4 separate regions of the Homo sapiens genome follow, and regions 1, 2 and 3 are each linked to region 4. The links are contacts of gene promoters, found by promoter capture Hi-C in human tissues and cell types (Jung and others, 2019). All regions are on one chromosome and are shown on one strand. Each heading gives the region's core, a stretch centred on a gene start or on the middle of the fragment in contact. The rest is flanking DNA. Distances are from core to core; before and after follow the strand shown.

Evidence for each region. The method cuts DNA at HindIII sites, captures the fragments that hold promoters and counts their contacts. A contact is called where the count stands out against the background at its distance.
Region 1: the fragment with the promoter of DHDDS here is called in contact with the fragment with the promoter of NR0B2 in region 4 in 1 of the 25 tissues and cell types used here (aorta).
Region 2: a contact is called between a fragment that was not itself captured here and the fragment with the promoter of NR0B2 in region 4, in 2 of the 25 tissues and cell types used here (IMR-90 fibroblasts and liver).
Region 3: a contact is called between a fragment that was not itself captured here and the fragment with the promoter of NR0B2 in region 4, in 1 of the 25 tissues and cell types used here (liver).

The regions. Positions count from the first base shown.
Region 1 is chr1:26,430,913-26,434,078 of GRCh38, reverse strand. It overlaps DHDDS (dehydrodolichyl diphosphate synthase subunit), which reads right to left and starts at 1,758. Exons shown (of 9, transcript NM_205861.3): 1 at 1,703-1,758; 2 at 1,071-1,188. The coding sequence starts at 1,133. LOC124903883 (a long non-coding RNA gene) reads left to right here and starts at 1,842. Exons shown (of 2, transcript XR_007065557.1): 1 at 1,842-2,106; 2 at 2,961-3,166. RefSeq lists enhancers at 1,439-1,928, 1,466-2,002, 2,029-2,088, 2,159-2,218, 2,003-2,539. The HindIII fragment of the contact is 9,291 bases long and covers 1-3,166 here.
Region 2 is chr1:26,605,484-26,608,678 of GRCh38, reverse strand. No RefSeq gene overlaps it. Among named protein-coding and RNA genes, the nearest start is that of MIR1976, 53 kb to the right of the region's middle. The HindIII fragment of the contact is 7,565 bases long and covers 1-3,195 here.
Region 3 is chr1:27,274,481-27,277,216 of GRCh38, reverse strand. The region is part of intron 3 of WDTC1 (WD and tetratricopeptide repeats 1); the gene reads right to left. Among named protein-coding and RNA genes, the nearest start is that of WDTC1, 41 kb to the right of the region's middle. The HindIII fragment of the contact is 7,092 bases long and covers 1-2,736 here.
Region 4 is chr1:26,912,377-26,915,568 of GRCh38, reverse strand. It overlaps NR0B2 (nuclear receptor subfamily 0 group B member 2), which reads left to right and starts at 1,594. Exons shown (of 2, transcript NM_021969.3): 1 at 1,594-2,160. The coding sequence starts at 1,629. It also overlaps a transcript of NUDC not described here. RefSeq lists an enhancer at 1-127. The HindIII fragment of the contact is 33,061 bases long and covers 1-3,192 here.

The DNA of each region.
Region 1 (3,166 bases), core at 509-3,008, 480 kb after region 4:
GTTGTTAAAGTCACATGATTACTAAATGATAGAACTGGACTTTCAGGCCAGGTGCAGTGGCTCAGTCCTATAATCCCAGCACTTTGGGAGGCTGAGATAGGTGGATCACCTGAGGTCAGGAGTTCGAGACCAGCCTGGCCAATATGAGAATCCCATCTCTACTAAAAATATAAAAATTAGCCATGTGTGGTAGCATATGCCTGTAACCCCAGCTACTTGGGAGGCTAAGGCAAGAGAATTGCTTGAACTTGGCAGATGAAGGTTGCAGTAAGCCAAGATTGCGCCATTGCACTCCAGCCTGGGCGACAGAGCGAGACTCCATCTCAAAATAAAAAAAAGAACAGGAATTTCACCCATGTTTGTCTGCGTCTAGAGCCCAAACTCTTTTTTTTTTTTTTTTTTTGAGACAGAGTCTTGTTCTGAACTCTTTTTTTTGAGACAGTCCCGTTCTGTCACCCAGGCTGGAGTGTGGTGGCACAATCATGACTCACTGCAGCTTTGACCTGGGCTCAAGAAATTCTCCCACTTCAGCCTTCCGAGTAGCTGGGACTACAGGTGCACACCACCAAGCCCTGCTATTTTTTTAATTTTTTGGAGAATCGGGGTTTTGCCATGTTGCCCAGGCTGGTCTCAACTCCTGAGCTCAAACAATCTGCCCACCTCAGCCTCCCAAATTGCTGGGATTACAGGCGTGAGTGACCGGGCCCAGCTCTACTGACAGATCAAAGAATATATCAAAGATTAACCTATTTAAATCAAGAAGACAGTACATGGAACAATGGATCAATGTTCCAGGGAAACAAATTTCAGTTCTCTATAAAGAATACTTAGCAGTCTAGGCTGCCCAGTGACATTAAGAGGCCTGGGCTTCCAGAAAATATCAGAGTTAGGACAAAAGTCTACCAGAAATGTAGACCTGGAAGTTACCATTCTAAGACTCTTTGGTTTCCTTGCTAAATTCCACTTAACATCATGAATTGCACTTAACATCATCAACTTTAATAACAGGTTTTTATATAAGATTATCCAACTGACCAGAAGGCCAACCGGTGCTCTGGGCCATTGCTCACCTTTATGATGTTGGCACAGAACCGCTCCCAAAGTGACAGCTCTCCTTCCTTGATCCATGACATAGTTCTTTTCCAGTCAGAAGATCACTCCAGAACAAGCAAACACCAGCCAGGTAATCTTGGATAAACAAGAAAGAAAATAAGAAGTCACCAAGGTTTGCGAAGAGCTATAACTGACTTCTGGGGAATCAGATGGACTATGGAGAGCAGCCAGCATTAGAATCCAAAGACACTGGTCTAAGCCTATAATCTTTTACCACCCAGAGTTTTATAACGCAATGTGACCTCTGGAGGCAAAAGCCTTTCCTCGGTTCTCCTGGCTTTGCAGACTTCTTCCCATTCCCATTTCCTCCGTATCTGCACTGACTTCTTCTGAACATCTAAGTCGGTTTCCTGCCACATCATGGTGCCCACATCTTGATCATTCCCCGTTTCTTCCTTCTCCATCTTCCCCTAAGCTGTTTCCAACTCTGTGCTCCCAGTTACTAACTCCTTCAGTTATCGCACGCCTAGTACTTCACGCCTCAGTGGTCTCCTGATTATTCCCTCAGTCGTCCCTTTGCTTCTCCCGCAGCTGCTCCCCGCCCAGTCACCCTCTTCTCCTCTAGTTCACCCCTTCAGTTCAGTGGCACCTGATTAGCTCCGCTGGGCGCGTCCCCACGGCTTCAGTGGGCCGGCACTTCCTCATGACGTGGCGCTGGCAGAACACGTCATCTTTGGGCGCTGCGACACGCCCCTTCCGTCACCCAAACTGAGGGGACCCTGCCCTGCGCCTGCGCCTGCGAGCTAGTGGGAGGGCGGTTCTCAGTCCCGCGGGGTGTGGAAGCCGGCGCGGGTGAGAGCCAGGCTCACGTGACCGAGCGGGGCGGGAGGCTGGGCTCCAGGCCACGTGCTGGGAGACCAGCTGGGGAAGACAGGGTTGAGCCCAGCGTTGGGAGCGGAGGCGTCTGGAAAACGCGCCAGGGAAATGAGCCAGGGGCAAGAATCGAGGCGCTTCTCGGCCGTCGAAGGCAGCTTAGGACTGCTGAGAGACTGGGTAAGGCAGCGTCCTTACCTTGGAATGCCGCAGAACCGGGCTTCATTAGAGCACTGGTGCATACTCTTAAAAATTATCTCGTTACCGTTTCGTATTTTATTTAGTGGATTTAATCGTCTGGGAAGGAGTTTCTAGCCGCAGCCAATCTTACAGACGCGCAGAATATTAATCTATTTTGTGCCGACTTAAGGCACGCATATTTTAGGATTTGTGGATTCCCAAGACCTATCCCAACGAACTCAAGAGAAGGGGTAAGGCCAGAAAGATTTCTGCCATAAGAATGACTTCTAGGCCAGGCGCGGTGGCTCACGCCTGTAATCCCAGCACTTTGGGAGGCCGAGGCGAACGGATCACCTGAGGTCAGGAGTTTGAGACCAGCCTGACCAACATCGTGAAACCCCGTCTGTACTAAAAATACAGAAAATGAGCCGGGCGTGGTGGCGGGCGCCTGTTATCCCAGTTACTCGGGAGGGTGAGGCAAGAGAATCGCTTGAACCCGGGAGGCGGAGGTTGCGGTGAGCCAAGATCAGGCCACTGCACTCCAGCCTGGGCAACAGGAGCGAAACTCTGTCTGAAAAAAGAAAAAAAAAAAAAGCATGACTTCTAAAATAACAGAAAGGTGCTCGCTTTGGCAGTACATAAATGAAAATAACAGAAATTAACCCTGGTAGAAAAGTTAAGGGCATTAGCTCTACTGAACCTTTACGAAAAAAAGGGTTGCAAGAATTCTAGGCTCACAAAACAAATTTGTAGTTCAATTTTCTCAAAATTGAAAGAGGAGGAAAAAATTCTTTACAGATTCTTATACAACCAGTATTATTTTTATTTATTTATTTATTTATTTATTTATTTAGAGACGGAGTCTGGCTATGTCGCCCAGGCTGGAGTGCAGTGGCGCGATCTCGGCTCACTGCAGCCTCCGCCTCCCGGGTTCAAGCGTTTCTCCTGCTTCATCCTCCTGAGTAGCTGGGACTACAGGCGCGTGCCACCAAGCCTGGCTAATTTTTGTATTTTTAGTAGAGACAGGGTTTCACCATTTTGGCCAGGATGGTTTTGATCT
Region 2 (3,195 bases), core at 469-2,968, 310 kb after region 4:
GGAAAGTTACGGCTAGGCATGGTGCCTCACGCCTGTAATGCCAGCACTTTGGGAGGCTGAGGAGGGTAGATCACCTGAGGTTAGGAGTTCGAGACCAGGCTGACCAACATGGTGAAACCCTGTCTCTATTAAAAATGCAAAAATTAGCCGGGCATGGTGGCACACACCTGTAATCCCAGCTACTCGGGAGGCTGAGGCAGGAAAATCCCCTGGACCTGGGAGGCAGAGGTTGCAGTGAGCCGAGATCGCACCATTATACTCCAGCCTGGACAACAAGAGCGAAACTCCCTCTTGAAAATAAAAAAAAAAAAAGATGGAAAGTTATCAAATTCTGGCCGGGTGCAGTGGCTCATGCCTGTAATCCCAGCACTTTGTGGGGCCAAGGTGGGAGGATTACTTGAGCCCAGGAATTCAAATGGGCAACATAAGGAGACCCCCCAGTGTCTACAAATATATATATATATATATATATATTTTTTTTTTTTTTTTTTTTTTTTTTTGAGAGGGGTCTTGCTCTGTCTCTCAGACTGGACTTCTGTGGCATGATCTCGGCTCACTGCAGCCTCTGCCTCTTGGGTTCAAGCGATTCTCCCGCCTTAGCCCCAGAGTAGCTGGAACTATTGGCGCGAGCTGCCACACCTGGCTAATTTTTTGTATTTTAAGTAGAGACGGGGTTTCACTATGTTGGCCAGGCTGGTCTCAAACTCCTGGCCTCAAGTGATCTGCTTTCCTCGTCCTCCCGAAGTGCTGGGATTACAGGCATGAACCACTGTGCCCAGCCTACAATTTTTTTTTTTTAATTAGTTGAGTGTGGTGGCATGTGCCTATAGTCCCGGCAATTCAGGAGGCTGAAGTGGGAGGATCACTTGAACCTGGGAGGTCAAGGCTGCAGTGAGCTGTGACATGATCTCTGATCTCACTTCTGCACTTCAGCCTCGGTGATGGAGCAAGACCCTGTCAAAAAAAAAAAAAAAAAAAAAGAAAGAAAGAAAGAAAGAAAGAGAGGAGAGGGGAGGGGAGGGCAGGGGTTGGGTTACCAGGTTCTATTTGTTACCAGACGAACACAAAAAGAAGCTCAATGTAGCTGACAGGTTGGAGAGGTAGGTGAGGCCAGTCCATACAGGGCTTTCTTGGACCTCAAAGGAGTTTGTATTTTATTCTAAATACAGTGAGAAGCCATTAGAGAATGGTAAGTTAACAAAGAGAGAATTGAGAAGATCCTAGAGCCACAATATTTCAAAAGGTTTCTTACTGATGAAGAAACTGATGCTCAGAGAGGTTCGGTGACTTGCCCAAGATTACACAATCCATAAACCGTGGAATTGAGATTTAGTCTCTCACAGCCTCTGATTCAAGGACTCTGTTCTTTCCACTATTATCTAATACTTGCTTGGGCCAAAAGCTTCACAATATTCTTGACTCCTCTCTATTTCTCTTATATTCCTCATCATATCCATCAGCAAATCCTGGCACCTCTACGTCCAAAATATGACCACTTGTCACCACCTGCACTGCTATCACCCTGACCCAAGCCACCATTATTTCTTGCTTTGATTCCTGCAATTGCCTCCTAACTGGTCTCCCTGCTTCAGCTCTTCCACTCCTACCTTCTATTTTCTACACAGCAGCCATAATAATCCTTTAAAAACATAAATCATATTTACAACTATTATGTACCCATAAATTTTTTTAGAGGCTGAGTGTGGTGGCCTGTGCCTGTAACCCCAGTGTTTTGGGAGGCCAAGACAGGAGGATCACCTGAGGCCAGGAGTTTGAGACCAGCCTGGGCAACATAGTGAAACCCGATCTCTTCAAAAAAATTTTAAAATTAGCTGGCATAGTGGTTCACACCTGTAGTCCTAACTACTTAGGAGACTGAGGCAGGAGGATCACTTGAGCCCAGGAGTTCAAGGCTGCAGTGAGCTATGACTGCGCCACTACACTCCAGCCTGGGTGACCCCGTTGTAAAAAAATTAAATAATTTTATGTCATATCATAAAACATAAGTCTTTCCCCTACTAAAAACCCTCCAGTGGCTTCTCATCTCACTCAGAATAAAAAACAGAGAGGTCGAGCACAGTGGCTCACACCTGTAATCCCAGCACTTTGGGAGGCAAAGGCGGGCAGATCACTTGAGCCCAGGAGTTCAAGACCAGCCTGGCCAACATGGTGAAACCCTGTCTCTACTAAAAATATAAAAGTTAGCTGAGTGTGGTGGTGCACACCTGTAATCCCAGCTACTTGGGAGGCTGAGGCAGGAGAATCGCTTGAACCTGGGAGGCGGAGGTTGCAATGAGCCAAGACTGTGCCACTGCACTTCAGCCAGCCTGGGCAAAAGAGCGAGAGTCTGTCTAAAACAAAACAAAACAAAATAAACAAAGACCCCACAATGATTTACAAGGCCTTACAAGTCTGTCCCCTCCACTCCCACTTTCCTGACCTCTCTTACATCTTTCCCTTGGCTTATTCTATTTAGCTACAATTGGTCTCCTTCAACAAGGAAACTCCTGTGTCAGGACCTGTGCATTTGCTGTGCCCTCTGCCTGGCAAGCTCCTCCCCCTCATATTTATATGGCTTGTTCTCCCTCTTCTTTTATGTCTCAGCTCAAATCACCTCATCAGTGAGTTCTTTCTGTCTACCCTTTGTAAACTAAAAAAACTCTGTCCAGCCGGGCGCGGTGGCTCACACCTGTAATCCCAACACTTTGGGAGGCCGAGGCGGGCAGATCACAAGGTCAGGAGATCGAGACCATCCTGGACAACATGGTGAAACCCCATCTGTACTAAAAATACAAAAAATTAGCTGGGCATGGTGGCGCGTGCCTGTAATCCCAGCTACTCAGGAGGCTGAGGCAGGAGAATTGCTTGAACCAGGGAGTCGGAGGTTGCATTGAGCTGAGATCACACCATTGCCCTCCAGCCTGGCAAGAGAGTGAGACTCCATCTCAAAAAAAAAAAAAAAAAAAAGACTCTGCTCAAACCATAATTTCTATCTCCCTTAACACTGCTTTATGATTCTCAATACCCTCATTATCATTTAATACACTATAGGTCTACTTACTTATTATTTTGATCCTTCCCATTAGAATGTAAGTTGCATGAGAATAAGAACTTTATTTTATTTTCTGTTCTTAGAACACTGTTTTCAGCTCTGATAACACTGCCTGGCACATAGTAGGTGAATAGAGGCAGTTG
Region 3 (2,736 bases), core at 10-2,509, 360 kb before region 4:
AACAAAAGAAAAAAAGTTTAGTTGGGCATGGTGGTGTGCGCCTGCAGTCCCAGCTACTCAAGAGGGTGAGATGGGAGGATTGCTTGAGCCTGGGAGGGTAAGGCTGCAGTAAGCCATGACTGTGCCACTGCACTCCAGTGAGGGTTACAGAGACAGATCCCATATCAATTAAAAAAAAAAAATAAAACATAAATTGAATTTCATTAAAATTAAAACTTTTATGCAAAGTCACCATTTAAAAATGAAAAGACAACACACAAAGGAAAAGAAACAAAATTTCAAATCATACATATCTTATAACTCAACAATAAAAAAGGACAACCCAATTAAAAAATGAGTGAAGCATCTCAACAGACATTTCTCCAAAGAAAATACACAAATATGACAACAAGCACATGAAAACATGCTCAACATCATTAGTCATTAGGGAAATGAAAATCAAAACCACAATGAGATACCACTTCACACCCACCAGGAGGGCTATAATAAAAAAAAAATTTTTTTTTCTTTTCTTTTTTTTTTTCGAGACGAAGTCTTGCTCTGTCACCCAGGCTGGAGTGCAGTGGCGCAATCTCGGCTCACTGCAATCTCCTCCTCCTGGGTTCAAGCAATTCTCCTGCCTCAGCCTCCCAAGTAGCTGGGACTACAGGTGTGTGCCACCACACCTGGCTAAGTTTTGTATTTTTAGTAGAGATGGGGTTTCACTGTGTTAGCCAGCATGGTCTCAATCTCCTGACCTTGTGATCTGCCTGCTTCGGCCTCCCAAAGTGTGGGATTATAGGCATAAGTCACCGCGCCTGGCCTATAATAAAAAATATTGATAATAAGAAGTGTTGGCAAGGATGCAGACAAATTGGAACCCTCACACATTTCTGGTGGGAATGTAAAATGGTGGTACCACTTTGGAAAACAGTTTGGCAGTTCCTCAAAAAAGTTAAACACTGAGTTACCATATGACCCAGCAATTCCACCCTTCGGTATATACCAAGAAAAGTGAAGAAAACATGTCCACACAAAAACTTGTACATGAAGGTTCATAGCAGCATTATTTATAATAGCCAAAAAATAGAAACAACCACATGTTCCACCAACTGATGAATGGATAGACAGAATGTGGTACATCCAAATGATGGAATGCTATTTGGCCGCAAAAAAGAGAAGTACAGATTCATACTATAACATAGATGAATCTTAAAAGCATTATGCTAAAAAGCCACACACTTTATAATTTCATTTACGTGAAATGTTCAGAATAGGAAAATCCATTGCAACAGAAAATAGATTAGTGGTTTCTGGGGTAGGGCCAGTATGGGAGAAGGAAGTGACTGCTAAGATGGGTAAGAGGTTCCTTTTTGGGGTGATGAAAACATCCTGGAATTAGATAGCAGGGATGGTTGCAAAACTTTGTGAGTATAGTTTGTGAATAGTCAAAACCACTCAATTAAATAAAATAACAAACAAGCAAACAGGCGACATTCTGGATTTGGCCCACTGGCCACAAATTGCTGATCTGGATTTAAAGGACAGTCCTCACGAAAGGAAATCTCTCACAAAGTCAGATCCCCGCTCCATCTTTTTCTTTATTTTTTTTTTTTTTTTGAGACAGAGTCTCACTCTGTCGCCCAGGTTAGAGTGCAGTGGTGCAATCTCGGCTCACTGCAACCTCCGCCTCCTGGGTTCAAGCAATTCTCCTGCCTCAGCCTCCCAAGTGCTGGGATTACAGGTGCCTGCCATCATGCTTGGCTAATTTTTCGTATTTTTAGTAGAGAAGGGGTTTCACCATGTTGGCCAGGCTGGCATCTTTTTCTTTAAACATGACTGTTTAATGAACTTGGTATCTAGTTTACTTCTCTAAAATGGTATTACCTTAAAAAGCTCTGACAAGTCTTTGTTAGAATAAGGTTACACTATGCCCATGGAACTGCTCTGGTCTACCAAAGCTATTCACAAAGGAAATCAATCTAGTTTCATATGACTTGTTTCCATAAATTCATAATTTGAATGTATGCTAAAATAATATAAGAAACAAAATGGAAAAAGCAAGCAGGCCAGATTGTAAAGGTGAGATAGATACATAATGTTTGCAATTGTTTAAGGATAATATGAAGAAAACTAATAAGGCAAGAGAATAAATCCACCAAGCCAGGAACTATCTATTAAGCCATTTTTAAAACAGACATATGGTTGAGGTGGAAAGGATATGAACTCTGCAGCCAGATAAGCCTGATATAAATCTTTTAAATCTTATTTCTACCACTTATCTGACCTTAGAAATGCTGAGTTTTACTCTGATTTGTAAAGTGAGATTCCTTTCTTCTTCTCTCTACCATGTGTCTAATACGGTGCCAAGAAATCCCACAAGTGAATGAAATAGCAGGAATCAAAGTGTGATCACAACTTCCAAGGTGATCTTGGGAGATCCCTGGTAATACATACAAAATGAAAGCAAGCAACTCCCCAAAAAAGTGAGGACTGCAGGCCATGGCTGGAATCCCAGGATATTTGGTTCTTGTCAGTTGTGACAATAAAACTCATGAGATGAGCTGGCACATGTAACTAAAGAGGGATGTGGAATGCTCAGCAAAAATGTCCAAGGAAAGTGGAAAACTGATTGGGTCTTATATACTAGAACGGCTTAAATTAATCCTCATTAATTTAAATTTAAATTGTTTAATCTCAACCTCCCTTCTGGCTCTCTTACTTGGTTGCTGCCACTACAACAGTTCTTTGTATTTT
Region 4 (3,192 bases), core at 345-2,844:
CTCCCCATCCAGGGCACCAGGCTGCCCAACAGCATGCAGCAGAAGGCTTGCCACACTGGACTGGCCAAGGTCCAGGAACATGACACAACCAAGGGCCTCTCCACCTTCTCTCATCCCCTGTGCTCCACCATCTGAGAAAGATGCCCGGGACAGAGGAGCCACGTGGCAGCAGAGCAACACTTCTGCCCAGATCACAAGTGGGCAACGTCTGCAAAGCAGGCAGCAGCAAGGTGGGGGCAGCTAGCCACAAGCTCTGAGAATCTCAGGCTCTGGCTGTGCAATTGGGCCAGTGGGTCCAGGGAAACAAACAAGGACTTTGGAGTCAGGCAAGATCTGGGCTTTGTCTTCCTGGTGGGATGACCTTGGGCAAGTCACTTTAGCTTTTTTAGTCTCATAAAGTAAGAATCTAGCCTTAGGAAGAGGCTGCCAATATTAGAGTGGGAAGTGCCTGACACATAATAAGTGCTTAGAGAATGGCAACCATATATATACATATATATATATATATATGTATGTATGTATGTGTATATATATATACACATATACATATAAATATACATATACATATACATATACATATACATATACATATATATTTTTTTGAGACAGGATCTTGCTCTGTTGCCCAGGCTGGAGAGCAGTGGCATGATCTCAGCTCACTGTAACCTCTGCCTCCCAGTTTCGAGTGATTCTTTTGCCTTAGCCTCTAGAGTAGCTGGGACTACAGGCACATGCCACCATGCCCGGCTAATTTTTGTATTTTTAGTAGAGACGGGATTTTGCCATGTTGGCCAGGCTGGTCTTGAACTCCTGACCTCAAATGATCCCCCTTCCTCAGCCTCCCAAAGTGCTGGGATTACAGGCATGAGCCACCGTGCCCGGCTGGCAACTATCTTTTATTATAATTCTGTGAGTTCTTCTCAGCAGACCTGGCCTTTCAGGAGTGGTAGGAATCAGGCTGGGGATAAGGATTCTGAAGGACCTTATTCCTGCAGGGGGCCCAGAACTGGAATCAGAGGAGGAGGCCTCCTAGATTGGACAGTGGGCAAAGTCCTCCCAGCCCCCAGGGTCCTGGCTCCCTTCCCTGTAGCCTGCTTCTGGCTGACAACAGAAGCAGGGCCCCAAGGTTAGGCAAACAAGCTAGTGATAAGGCACTTCCAGGTTGGGCCTTGCATTCAAGGCCCACCCAGCTCTGGGGCTGGCTTCCTGGCTTAGCAAAAGCCCTAGTCTTTTGTGCACACAAGAGCGGGCACCAATGGGGACACCTGCTGATTGTGCACCTGGGGCCTTGGTGCCCTGGTACAGCCTGAGTTAATGACCTTGTTTATCCACTTGAGTCATCTGATAAGGGGCAGCTGAGTGAGCGGCAGGTGGCCCTGTGCCCTGCACCGGCCACTTCATTGACTGAGGTGATATCAGTGCCACGTGGGGTTCCCAATGCCCCCTCCCCCACCACTTCCCCACCATTCCTGCCAGGGGCAATGTCTGTGTGTTTTTTTCAATGAACATGACTTCTGGAGTCAAGGTTGTTGGGCCATTCCCCCCGTTCCACTCACTGGGAATATAAATAGCACCCACAGCGCAGAACACAGAGCCAGAGAGCTGGAAGTGAGAGCAGATCCCTAACCATGAGCACCAGCCAACCAGGGGCCTGCCCATGCCAGGGAGCTGCAAGCCGCCCCGCCATTCTCTACGCACTTCTGAGCTCCAGCCTCAAGGCTGTCCCCCGACCCCGTAGCCGCTGCCTATGTAGGCAGCACCGGCCCGTCCAGCTATGTGCACCTCATCGCACCTGCCGGGAGGCCTTGGATGTTCTGGCCAAGACAGTGGCCTTCCTCAGGAACCTGCCATCCTTCTGGCAGCTGCCTCCCCAGGACCAGCGGCGGCTGCTGCAGGGTTGCTGGGGCCCCCTCTTCCTGCTTGGGTTGGCCCAAGATGCTGTGACCTTTGAGGTGGCTGAGGCCCCGGTGCCCAGCATACTCAAGAAGATTCTGCTGGAGGAGCCCAGCAGCAGTGGAGGCAGTGGCCAACTGCCAGACAGACCCCAGCCCTCCCTGGCTGCGGTGCAGTGGCTTCAATGCTGTCTGGAGTCCTTCTGGAGCCTGGAGCTTAGCCCCAAGGAATATGCCTGCCTGAAAGGGACCATCCTCTTCAACCCCGGTGAGCTCCCAGACACTCCTGGGTGGGGGGCAAGGCTGAAGCAGGGGCCAGCCAGGGAAGGTAGCTTCTAAGGGTTTGATATCTGTTATCTCATTGGGTCCTCATTTTCTTTTTATTTTTCTGAGACAGAGTCTCACTCTGTCACCCAGTCTGGAGTGCAGTGGTGCGATCTTGGCTCACTGCAACCTCTGCCTCCTGGGTTCAAGCAATTTTCTCTGCCTCAGCCTCCCGAGTAGCTGGGATTACAGATGGCCGCCACCACTCCCGGCTAATTTTTGTACTTTTTAGTAGAGATGGGCTTTCACCATGTTGATCAAGCTGGTCTTGAACTCCTAACCCCTCAGGTGATCCACCCACCTTGGCCTCCCAAAGTGCTGGGATTACAGGCGTGAGCCACCGTGCTTGGCCAGTCCTCATTTTCATCAAATAGCCATCTCACAGAAGAGGCACAGAGAAGCTAAGTGACTAGCTAAAGGTAACACAGCCAGGTAGGGACAGACCAGGATGGCAACTCAGGTCTATTCACTCCAGAGACTGGCCCTTGCCACTCTGCCTGAGAAATTTGCTCTGACCTTTACAGAAGGCTGTGGGGAGGTGGGGTGGGCAGACACAGCTGTGTCTCAGTCACATCCTCAAAGGAAGGCTGCATGGTGAAGCTCTAGAGCTAAAACTCCTCTGTGGGTTCAGAAAGATCACATAGAAGAGATGACTGAAAGGGGCGTAGGGAGGACAGGAAAGGAGTCTTTATGGAATTCGGCCAGGAGAGCGGCAGATGGAGACAGTGCTGTTTGTAATCTGGAGAGCATCTGAGATGAGAGTTCCCCAGGAGTCCCTTGTGGCACGCATAAATCGTAGTAATTAATTGTAATAATAGTAGCAAATACTCATATCACACTTACCATATGTTAGGCCCTATTCTAAGGGTTTTACATATACTAGTTCATTTAAATCTCATAAAAGCCTAGGAGACAGGTCCTATTAATATTATTATTCCCGTTTTACAGATAAAGAAACTGAAGCCCAGAGATTAAG